Regions from separate parts of the Homo sapiens genome. Here regions 1 and 3 are each linked to region 2. The links are contacts of gene promoters, found by promoter capture Hi-C in blood cells and fetal thymus (Javierre and others, 2016). All regions are on one chromosome and are shown on one strand. The core of a region is centred on a gene start or on the middle of the fragment in contact, and the rest is flanking DNA. Distances in the headings are between cores, read along the strand shown.

Region 1 (3,724 bases), core at 480-2,979, 540 kb before region 2:
TAGTGCAGCAATCTTTCTACTTTTCCCTACTCCATTTTCTCCCATTCTCTTGGCCCAGTGCCTCTTAAACTATCTGCTGTGAGGACTAGATGTTTTTATTTCCAATCTATTATAGACCAATACTTTTTAAAAATACAATAAAAATGTTACAGCAATGTCAAGTGCTATAACAGTTTCTAAAAGCTTGCTCTCACTTTCTGTACTCATCTCCTGGCAAGTCAGTAACCAAGGGCTCCCCAACTGGCCACTTTGTGCACTGCAGTCCTAGATGACAAATCTCAAATTGCCAGCACCTCCCCACCTTATTCACTCTGAGTTGATCATCTTGCTTCCTCTTTCACTAAAAAGGAATGAAAGACAATCAGTTCTTACTGATATGCAAATGATGTTTACAAAGGTTATTACTACACTCCTATAATTGCTTCTGTGCTGCTTTGCAAAAAATGAAAACTAAAAATAAATCACACCCAAACAAATACAGGCTAGAATGGTTTGTTGTTGTTGTTGTTGTTGTTTGGAAAGAAGCAGTTCTTTCAAAGTAGCTTTGTTACTTGTACCAAACTGTAAACATAAAACCTTTGTGCAACCTAGAGTGACTTTTTCCAAAGATTGTTACCTATTTCAAGGTGGAACCATTAAAACGTACTGAACCACAGTGGAAAAGACAACTATTGAGCCTAATTGAGGAGAAGGGTACTGTTTATTTCTGTGGCAACTGTATGTGGGTATATGGACAAGGTCTGTCATCTATTTAGGGACTTGTTTTATATGTCCCCGACCTTATCCACATCTTTTTGTTTTCTTTTGAATGTACTTTTCCAAACAAAGAATTATAAAATTATTTCAACCTTAGAACCTTAAGATGCCTTCAAATGGATTTATGTTAGTCTTTAGGGAGTCAATGTGTTGCTGCTTATTATAATATAGTTCGCTTGGAGCCCCAAGTGTGCCAATGTCCTCCCCACACTTCCCAGATGCCTTCATCTTCCTGTGAGCACTTGAGCTAGGAATCTCAGGTGACTTAATTTGGTTTTCCAGTGCTGAGGAGGCTACATTGTCTGGGGTATATATCCAGGGGCTCACCATTTGGCATTGGAAAATTTAGGACACAGACACAAGGAGTTTGTGTCTGTGTCCTAAACCTTTAGGAGTAAAGGTTTAATAGGCAGAAGAAGAGAAACAGCTCTCTCTGTCGAGAGAGAGAGGGGTTTTCCGAGCGGAAAAGATGGGCTGGCTGTGGATGTGCCGGATTGTATAGTAAAGCTTGAGGAGGTGGTGTCTGATTTAGGTAGGTAGGGCTCACAGATTGGTTTAATCAAATGTGAAGTTTACATAGCACGCCCAAATCCGGTCACCCCACCCTAATCTTATTATGCTAATGAACTCTCCGTGTCTGGCCGCCATCTTGTCGCTCTTTACTGTACACATGGCTGGCACCTAAAGGAAGATGGAGCCAACATGTCTAGTCCCTAGTTCCCGCCAGCATTCACTAGCGCAAGCTCCCAGGTTGGCTGTCTACGTCTGCAGCTCGACTTTACAGGCTGCTCTTTGTTAGAAAATGATTTGGGGCTGGCCGGGCGCGGTGGCTCACGCCTGTAATCCCAACACTTTGGGAGGCCGAGGCGGGCGAATCATGAGGTCAGGAGATCAAGACCATCCTGGCTAACATGGTGAAACCCCGTCTCTACTAAAAATACAAAAAAAAAAATTAGCCGGGCGTAGTGGTGGGCGCCTGTAGTCCCAGCTACTCGGGAGGCTGAGGCAGGAGAATGGCGTGAACCCAGGAGGCGGAGGTTGCAGTGAGCCGAGATCGCACAGCCGCACTCCAGCCTGGGCAACAGAGTGAGACTCCGTCTCAAAAAAAAAAAAAGAAAAGAAAAGAAAAGAAAAAAGAAAATGATTTGGGGCTGCTTTTCATTAAAAAGCCTTACCGAGGACTCCCATAACCTTACTATCTGCCTAAGTGATTTCTTCTTAACCCCTGTATCAGTGCCTACTCTATTGAAAAACTAGTTTTTCATTCTTGAGAAGAAACTTATGGAAGGACACGTTTCCTATCACAAGTTCACGTACTAATTTTTTTGTTTAATTTCCTTGGTGCGACTTATGCCAAGTAATTATGAAGATTTTTTTTCCTGGGTATTTCATGAAGCCTAGGAAGTTGGAACAGGCAAATCCTGGGTGTGAAAGCTTTATTTTATCTACCTCATTTATTTTTTATTTGTTGTAGTCATAGTCTCTGCTTTCCTATTTTAAGACCACTGAAGTATTCCCAGGCCCTGTCTTAAACTTAAGAGTTGATGTATTGGTGGGAAGAACTGAATGTTCAAGATGATCTTTTTATTCCATTTTTTTATAATCTCCTTTTGTACATGTAATAACATTGAGCATATGAATTATTGTTCCTCTAATGGCTTAACGGGAAAGGAGAAAGAAAGATCCTAACTTCTGGGTGGAAAAGTCTTTCCCCTGTATGCGGAAGGCCCTGATTGAAATGTGGACCTAAGACTGTTTGCCAAGTTTTGTCTCTTAGTTATTGCACCTTGACTTTAGGATTCCCCAATTTTTTTTTTCTTTTTTTCTTTCTTTTTTTTTTTTTTTTTTTTTTTGCCAAGCTGTGCCTTTCCTTCTGGAATTGTAAGTGAACACAATAGTACATGCTTACACTGTGAAGTGGATACTGTTACGGAGAACACAACAGTGGCTTTCTCACTGTTGAGATGATAATGTCTTGTGAATGTATGATCTACAGAGAAACCCCTGTAGTTTTATCCACTGATGCTGTCTGCTGGAAAATAAATTTTGAATGTTTTTTCCCCCTGTCAAAATGACAGACAGACAGACAGACAATCAGAAGGGACCAAACTTTCCTTCCATATACTCTTTCTTCCCTTTTATTAGAGATGAATTGCTTGTGTTCCCATCTTAGGTCAAATCCTCCATTTATGCACTGGATTCCAACCTCTCTTCTACTCAAAGACACTGTTCCATCAATTCTTTCTCTCCTGCATCAGAGATTTTTCCCTTTCTACTGAGTTATTCCTATCACTGTACATGCTATTATTTCTCCCATCTTAAGAAGAAAATCTCTTGCTCCCACTTCCCCTCCAGCCTCTTGACTGCACTCTCCTTTAGTACTGTCTATATGCTCTTTCCAGCCCCTCTTCCTTAACCAACTCCAGCCAGGCTTACCCCACCACTCCATTACATTGCTTTCTCAAGGTCACTAGGGAAACTCACTTTGTAAACTCTGGCAGTCAACTGTCAATCTTCGAAGTAGACACTTTCTATGGTACATGTCATGTTCCCTGGGCCCACCTCTAATTTCAGTCATAGCTGCAGTTGGTTCCGTGCTCATTAACAGCATTCCTTAACAAGCACCCACCTCATCTCTCTCTGCTTTCAGCCTCAAGGTTTCTCCCACAAGAGCTTGCAAATCCCAGAAGTAGAGAAGAGTTAACACTCTCAAGAAAACCCTCAACCAAGGGGGACCAGACACATGTCCCAGCTTCCCATTGTCTGAGCAGAAAATTGTGGCTGGCGCTTTACATCCTTCTTAGATGTCTCAGTGGAGCTGACCCCACAGTCTGGAGCAACCATCTCAATAACACACCCTTTATTGGCTTTCTTCTTTCACTATCTCACTTCTCTGCTCTCTCATTCCTGTTCCTGGGATCATCTCCCAAATAAATACCTTGTCCACCATCTCTGCCTTAGAGAACCC
Region 2 (3,940 bases), core at 624-3,123:
AAATGGCGTACTCCACTTTGCCAAACCAGACTACTTTATTATAATTATCATTCCATCATCTCAAAGTGGGAACGATGACACCTGCATCACAAAGACAGTGTGAGGATTAGGCAGTAAAAGCATGTTAGCACCGTGTAGAGCGCTCTAGAAGTTTTAATTGATTTACAGCAGAAATTATGCCTCCTGGGAACTATGTGAAAAGCAGAGGCAAGGGGAGAGCTGCGGGTAGCTACACGTCAATACCCAGGAACACAGGCTGGTGATGGGGGGAGGGAAGACAGTTAACAACCTCCTGAGGAGTCCTTACAGCCTCTTCTCAGACCCATAGCAGCAGAAACCCACACTGCAGGACTCCCACCTCGGACTGACTAAGTTACTTGCAAGTATATGTAAATCTCATCTCCTTGGAAAAATGCTAAATAATAAAACTGCCAACGTGCAGACCCAGGCGCTCATTTCCCTGCCAGTGTAGCTCATGTACCTCTGGGATGTGCAAGCCGAAACACGTGTGCACGTCTGAGCGGCTGAACCAACATGTATCCATAAACATTATGAATAATACTCGCGAGAATGTACGGCTTTCTCCTAAGTAGCGCTTGAAGCACTTTACCCAAATCAAGTCCCTTTTGTATCACTCCTTCCCTGCCTTTCCTACCTATCACTCTCGTGCTGAAAGTTGGAGCTCCTTACCCAAAGACTGGGCGGAAAGGGTGACCGCCCTGGACCCCTGCCCGACTTCCCGTTAGGCCAAGCCGCTGTCCTGAAAGGGGATCGTGTCCAGGCCGGCTTCCTGGAGACACACCTGCGCCTGCACACACCCACCGCGGTCGCGTCACCAGTGCCGCGGCCACGTGGACGAAGACCAAAGTCTGGAGGGAATTCCCTCAGCCACAAAGCGATGGGAAAGCGGGACCCGGGTGAGTTTTGAAAAACATAAGGGGAACGGGGGTTGGGTGGACACAAAGGGAAGGGGTCACCGCTACTCACCCAACCCTCGAAGGTGTCCGAGGCGCCGGTCGTGCGCAGCAGCTCCTGGAACTGCAGGGTGCAGTTGGCCACGAAGTGGTCGTAGCCCAGGGGCGTCTCGTGGAAGACGGCCAACTCGAGGTGGCCGCCGTCGGTGACGTTAGCGCAAAACTCCTCGTTGTACGTGGGTTTGTTGGTCTTCTGCTTGGTGCTGGTCTGGCCCACGCGCACCTGGTCCACGCTCACCGTCAGATAGGGGTCCAGCAGCTGGTGGCCCTTCTTGAAGAGCGAGTGGCGCAGGGACCAGCGGGTGGGCTGCAGCCCCACTGCCTCACCGATGCGGACCCTCAAATAGCCATTGAACTTCATGGTGCCAGACGACATGCCGGCGCCGCTGCCCCGGCCCCGGGGGGCCGCGCTGCTTCGCAGCGGGAGAACCGGGAGTCCCGTCTCAGGCCAGCCCTCGGGACAGGTGCAGGAGTCGAGGCAGCCCTGGGGAAAGGCAGCGCCTAAGCGCCCCTCGACTGGCCATTCTGCCTCCTCCGTGGGACTTTTCCCTCCCCTCCTTCCCTCCCTCCCGAGGTGGAAAGGAGGGGAGCCCGCCGCCGAGCCCTCAGCGGGCCGGGGAAGCCCGACCGTCCCTTCCAAGCGCGCGGCGCCTCCCGGGGACTCGCGCAGGACTCGCCCCTTCTCCAGGGCCGGGCAGCTCCTCTCCCTGGAGAGCCGGACCTACCCGTCCGGTGAGCCCCAGCCCCAAGCGTCTCTTCCCCCGCCTCCTCTTGCTTCTCCTCCTGCCCCCGCCTCCGAAGGCTCACGCTCTCCCCCACTCGGCGAGCTTCAAACCAGGAAGCAGCTGCCGCCGCCGCATCCCCGGCGAGAACCTCGCACCGCCAGGTTCCAAGTTCACAGAACCCCCGCGTCCGCTCCCGCGCCTTCCGGACCCCAGGGGCGTGGCCCGCGGTCCGCGGCCCGGCCCTGCGGTGGGTGGATCCCCGCGCAAGCCCCCGGGAGGCCAGTGCCCGCTTGCGCCGCCCTGCGCGCCCTCCTTGTAGCGCTGGGTCTGGCCGTGCGCTGCGGGTTAGGGGCCACCCCGGGCGCAGGCCAAAAAGGAAAGGGTTCGTGGCCCAGCCCGAGCAAACACCTGAGGCGTGGTAGACTGACCTGGGGAGCGATGGAAGGTTGGGAGGACGCAGAGGAGGGCGCTCCAGCCAGGAACCCGCGCGGCGAGGAGTCGCCCGCCCCCTCTCTCCCAACCTCCCCGGTGGGCTGGTGACCCTGCAGGGCCATCCCCAAGAGGCCCTGGCCGGAGGCGGGGGCACGGCGGGGAGGTTCTTTTTCCTAATATTTACAGGGATGGCTCATCCCGGGGTCAGCTCGAACGCATCCTGTTTGTGCGCCTTTCCTGCAGAGGCTAATTACACAGTTGTGTGTATGTGTGTGTTTTAATAGGGCAGTAGTAATGATGGAAATCCTGTTCGCCTCCTTCCTCGGAAGGTGTGTCTTGTTGCACATAGAGCAGGAAAGGTCGGTTCTTCTGGAGACAGACATGGCCAAGAGGTAATAAGTCTCTTCCTCTGCGGGTGGTTTCTGGTCCACCCAGCTCTGCGCGGCAAGGGCAGAAAATGTTCACACACACAGGCTGTCCCCAACACACACGCGGAAGAAATTGCCTCTTCTAGGAACACTCCAGCTTGTTGTATTTGCAGTCAGAGTGGGCAGCCTTCTGATGCTTCCCACCCCGTGGTCCCTGCAGATTTTGTCTCCGGGGAGGACCTTTTAGCCTACGCTGCTATGCCGCAAAGCTTGCTCCCTGAGGGCCAGCCACAACCAATTTGTTCCCCAAAAAGCCTAGGCCACTTTTTGTTGTTGTTGTTGTTGTTGTTTTTGAGACGGAGTTTCGCTTTTGTTGCCCAGGCTGGAGTGCAATGGCGCCATCTCGGCTCACCGCAACCTCCGCCTCCCAGGTTCGAGCGATTCACCTGCCCCAGCCTCCCGAGTAGCTGGAATTACAGGCATGCGCCACCACGCCCGGCTAATTTTGTATTTTTAGTAGAGACAGGGTTTCTCCATGTTGGTCAGGCTGGTCTCAAACTCCCGACCTCAAGTGATTCGCCTGCCTCGGCCTCCCAAAGTGCTGAGATTACAGGCGTGAGCCACAGCACCCAGCCAAGCCTAGGCCACTCTTAAGATACTTGATTACATTCTGTCTTGCTATACTGGTTCCCTCGGAGCAGATTCGGCTTGCTTTCATTCCTTTCTTTCTTCCTTCCCTCCTTTCTTTCTTTTATGTTTTAGAGACTGGGTTTTGCTTTGTCATCCAGGCTGGAATACAGCGGTGTGATCATGGCTTACCATAACCTCCAGCTCCCAGGTTCAAGTGATCTTCCAGCCCCTGCCTCCTAAAGTGTTAAGATTACAGGCATGAGCCCCCGTGCCTGGCCCCAGGTTCATCTTTCTAGCCCCCACTCCTCTAAGGCCCTGTTCAGAACTTTCTAATTGAGTAGGTTCTCAACGATTTCACATGAGTGCAAGGAGGCCTGACCCGTAATAACAGCACTATACAGAATGAAAACAAGTAAGGACAATGGGCCAGGGGGGAAAGGGCCTGTCTTGAAAACACCAAAGCTTCCTTAGAGAACAAGGCAGGGATGCAACGCATCACTCTAATGACATCTTAGCTTTAGGCAGGGCTTGTAAAGCCTGCTCCCAAACGTCCAGGGGGCTCCTGTTTGGCCTTAGTGCTCCAGGGGAAGATGTCGCATCTACCCTGTGGGTCAGCTCTGTCACCCTTTCCTCCAAACAGCTGAACTCTAGCTTTAAGAGCCACTAAAGGATTTGCTCCTGTTGGACTTTGGGGCTAAAAGAAAACAGTCCCCATACAGAATCATGGGGTGTAGACTTTAAATTTTTTTTTAAATTTTAAAAAGAAAACAGTCCCCAAATGGTAGGTGGCCACACAGCTGTCCTGGGACTG
Region 3 (3,707 bases), core at 124-2,623, 510 kb before region 2:
CAATAAACACACGCAGGTGCAGGCACAAAGAGGTGGAAGGTACCATGAGAAATCAACCCCCAGGAATTCAATTTCTATGATGTGTATGAAGGATACAGGAGTAAAGACTTGAGCTGACCTCTGGGTTATACAAAGATAAGCTGCCCCTAGACCAGTGGTTTTCAAACTTTAGCAAGTACCAGAATCACCTGGGGGGCTAATCAAAACACTGATTGCTACGCTCCACCAGGTTTCTCAATCAGTGGATCTGATACAAGTTCTGATTAATTAAATTTCTAACAAGTTCCCGGTGATGGCAACGTTACTAGTCCAGTAACCATATTTTGTAAACCACCGTTCTAGGCCAACGAGAGTGGGTCTTACTCACCTGGGACATGTAAATTGAGAAAGACAGGAAAAGTTTCTGTGAGCCAGGTAGGAAAATTTTTGTTCCATTATCTATAGTTTAAAATGTATTTCTGTAGAAAAGTTTTGTTTGATTTTGTTATCAATGTGCTGCTGATCAAAGTATAAATTGGTACAATCCTTCTGTAGGGAAATTTGGCAACATCAAAATATTAAATGAGTATATCCTTTGACTCAGCAGTTCTGCACCCAGAAGAAGAAAACAGTGTAAAAAGATAATTTCAGGAATATTCTGGCAGTATTTTTTGATCTTTTAAAAATCCCTAAATGGCCATAAAAAGGTGATTGATAAAATCAATCATAAAAAAAAAAAGTCACCTGGCCGGGCGCAGTGGCTCACGCCTGTAATCCCAGCACTTTGGGAGGCCAAGATGGGCAGATCAAGAGGTCGGGAGTTTGAGACCAGCCTGGCCAACATAATGAAACCCCATCTCTACTAAGAATACAAAAAATTAGCTGGGCATGGTGGCAGGCGCCTGTAATCCCAGTTACTTGGGAGGCTGAAGCAGGAGAATCACTTGAACCCAGAAGGAGGAGGTTGCAGTGAGCCGAGACCGCGCCACTGCACTCTTTCCCCGGGCGACAATGTGAGACTCTGTCTCAAAAAAAAAAAAAAAAAAAAAAAAATTCACCTTTCATGAGACAACATTTACAGTGTACTATTTATTGAAAAGGCAGGTCCTTATACACATTACTCCACTAGTCAGTGCTGCTCAAAGTAGCAGCCTATTAACTGTTTTTTGCTGTTCTTAAAGCTATAAATCAGCACACACTGCCTTCTTCCTTGAAAATGTCTTATCACAGCAAACAATGCAACAATTTCTCTTAATATCTTCATATGCAAAGTGGGTATAAAAGGTCAGGATTTATAAAAAGGTAAGTTTCTTTAAGACCTTAATGAAACTAAAACAAGTGCTTTGGAAACAAATATTCCCAAACACATGCCTGGTTTTATGGGAATGCTATGCTATATACCATCATATATCAACACACATCTTTTTCAAACAACAGGTAATTGGAATACAGCAGTGTGTTTAATGAATAATTTTAAGAGAGAACAATTCAGAGCATCAAACAGTATTTATATACCAGTACAACTGGATAGATGGATGGGTGATCTGGTATATCAAATGTGAATCAGGGCTGGGTGCAGTGGCTCATGTCTGTAATCTCAACACTTTGGGAGGCCAAGGAAAGCAGATCACCTGAGGTCAGGAGTTCAAGACCAACCTGGCCAACATGGTGAAACCCCATCTCTACTAAAAATACAAAATTAGCCAGGCATGGTGGCGCACACCTGTAATCCCAGCTACTTGGGAGGCTGGGGCAGAAGAATCACTTAAACCCGGGAGGCAGAGGTTGCAGTGAGCCGAGATCACACCACATTGCACTCCAGCCTGGGCAACAAGAGCAAGACTCTGTCTCAAAAAAAAAAAAAAAAAAAAAAAAGCCAGGCACGGTGGCTCATGCCTGTAATCCCAGCACTTTGAGAGGCCAAGGCAGGCAGATCACGAGGCCAAGAGTCTAAGACCAACCTGGCTAACATGATGGAACCCTGTCTCTACTAAAAATATAAAAAATTAGCCAGGCATGGTGGCAGGTGCCTGTAATCCCAGCTACTCAGGAGGCTGAGGCAGGAGAATTGCTTGAACCTGGGAGGTGGAGGTTACAGTGAGCCGAGATCGCACCACTGCTCTCCAGCCCAGGCGACAGTGGGAGACTCCATCTCAAAAAAAATAAATGTGAATCAGGACATTTAACCGTGTAGTATACAGAGCTGATATGGATGCATCCTTCCCACTAAAAACACATGGAAATTCTAAATAAAATATAACCAATAAGCAAAATTACTTCCAAAGAACAAGTATCTCCCAGATTCCAAAATTTAAAAAAAAAAAAAAAAAAAATCAAAGCCAGAGCTTCAGCAATCCACTGGAAATTTAGTTTCAGACTTAGAGGCTATGGGACTCCACAGGGAAAAAGAACAGGATTGGAAGCTCCACCTCCAACTCCCTGCAGGAATAAAGCCCTGCACCTTAAAGAACAGTCCTGTAAGTAAAAAGGAAACTGTACACAGCCTGCTCGCTAGCGCAAAGAAAGAGCGAGGAAGCTGCTGAGTGCCCTGGTCCTTGAGTTTAAAATTTAAATTTAAAAAAAAAAAAAAAAAAAAAGCCACTGCTGGGCGCAGTGGCTAATGTCTGTAATCCCAGCACTTTGGGATCACAAGGTCAGGAGTTCAAGACCAGCCTGGCCAACATGGCAAAACTCTGTCTCTACTAAAAATACAAAAATTGGCCAAGCACGGTGGCTCACGCCTGTAATCCCAGCACTTTGGAGACAGGCAGATCACCTGAGGTCAGAAGTTCGAGACCAGCCTGACCAACATGGAGAAACCCCGTCTCTACTAAAAATACAAAATTAGATGGGCATGGTGGCCCATGCCTGTAATCCCAGCTACTCGGGAGGCTGAGGCAGGAAAATCGCTTGAACCCGGGAGGCAGAGGTTGCAGTGAGCTGAGATCGAGCCATCGCACTCCAGTCTGGGCAACAAGAACAAGACTCCGTCTCAAAAAAAAAAAAAAGAAAAGAAAAAAAAGCCACCCATGAGCCATGAGAAATAGAAATCTAGGACTTGCACAGGTTGAGGGGTCTAAATGTTTCCTCCATACAGTTTTTAATACTCCAAGATGAATTGTTACTATAAAAAGTGATCCAGGACCACCAAAATTCCTAGGGATACAGTAAACACAACATGAAAATCTCCGTCCTTACAGACAGAGATTGAAATAAATAATTTTACAGCTCAAAGCTTATGGAAAACTCACTGAAGATGAACTAGCACAATTAAATATCACAGAACACAGGAGGAAACGAATCACCATGAGGGTGAATCAGCAGACCTGAAAATTGACACCTTAAGAAGTGAAAACAATAGATGAATTAAACGGACTACAAAATAGTCAAGTTTTAAAATAATTTAGAAACCATAGTGAAGGAATAAGATACTCTGGCAAAGGGATAGATTTATTTTAAATAACCAAATAAAATTTTATAAATAAAAAATATTATTAGTGGAAAACAAAACTATTGCTAGGTTAAATAATATAACAGAGCCACCTTTAAAAAGAACTACTGGGCTGGGCCGGGCACGGTGGCTCACGCATGTAATCCTAACACCTTGAGAGGCCGAGGTGGGCGGATCACCTGAGGTCAGGTGTCCGAGACCAGCCTGGCCAACATGGTGAAACCCCATCTATACTAAAAATACAAAAAATTAGCCAGGCATGGTGGCGGGTACCTGC

The links. Contacts are between HindIII fragments. The CHiCAGO score rates a contact against its expected background, and 5 or more counts as called.
Region 1: a fragment that was not itself captured here is called in contact with the fragment with the promoter of PRKCH in region 2 in 1 of 17 cell types (monocytes); the score reaches 5.2 in monocytes.
Region 3: a fragment that was not itself captured here is called in contact with the fragment with the promoter of PRKCH in region 2 in 12 of 17 cell types (activated CD4 T cells, non-activated CD4 T cells, M1 macrophages and 9 more); the score reaches 19.6 in activated CD4 T cells.

Annotation. Positions count from the first base shown.
Region 1 is chr14:61,857,006-61,860,729 of GRCh38, reverse strand. The region is part of intron 1 of SYT16 (synaptotagmin 16); the gene reads right to left. Among named protein-coding and RNA genes, the nearest start is that of SYT16, 46 kb to the right of the region's middle. The HindIII fragment of the contact is 927 bases long and covers 1,266-2,192 here.
Region 2 is chr14:61,319,512-61,323,451 of GRCh38, reverse strand. PRKCH (protein kinase C eta) reads right to left here and starts at 1,873. Exons shown (of 14, transcript NM_006255.5): 1 at 988-1,873. The coding sequence starts at 1,350. PRKCH-AS1 (PRKCH antisense RNA 1) reads left to right here and starts at 634. Exons shown (of 5, transcript NR_186042.1): 1 at 634-917. RefSeq lists enhancers at 441-984, 985-1,529 and silencers at 1,491-1,660, 1,811-2,080. The HindIII fragment of the contact is 5,451 bases long and covers 1-2,770 here.
Region 3 is chr14:61,832,576-61,836,282 of GRCh38, reverse strand. All of the region lies in intron 1 of SYT16 (synaptotagmin 16), which reads right to left. Among named protein-coding and RNA genes, the nearest start is that of SYT16, 22 kb to the right of the region's middle. RefSeq lists an enhancer at 3,665-3,707. The HindIII fragment of the contact is 3,687 bases long and covers 1-3,216 here.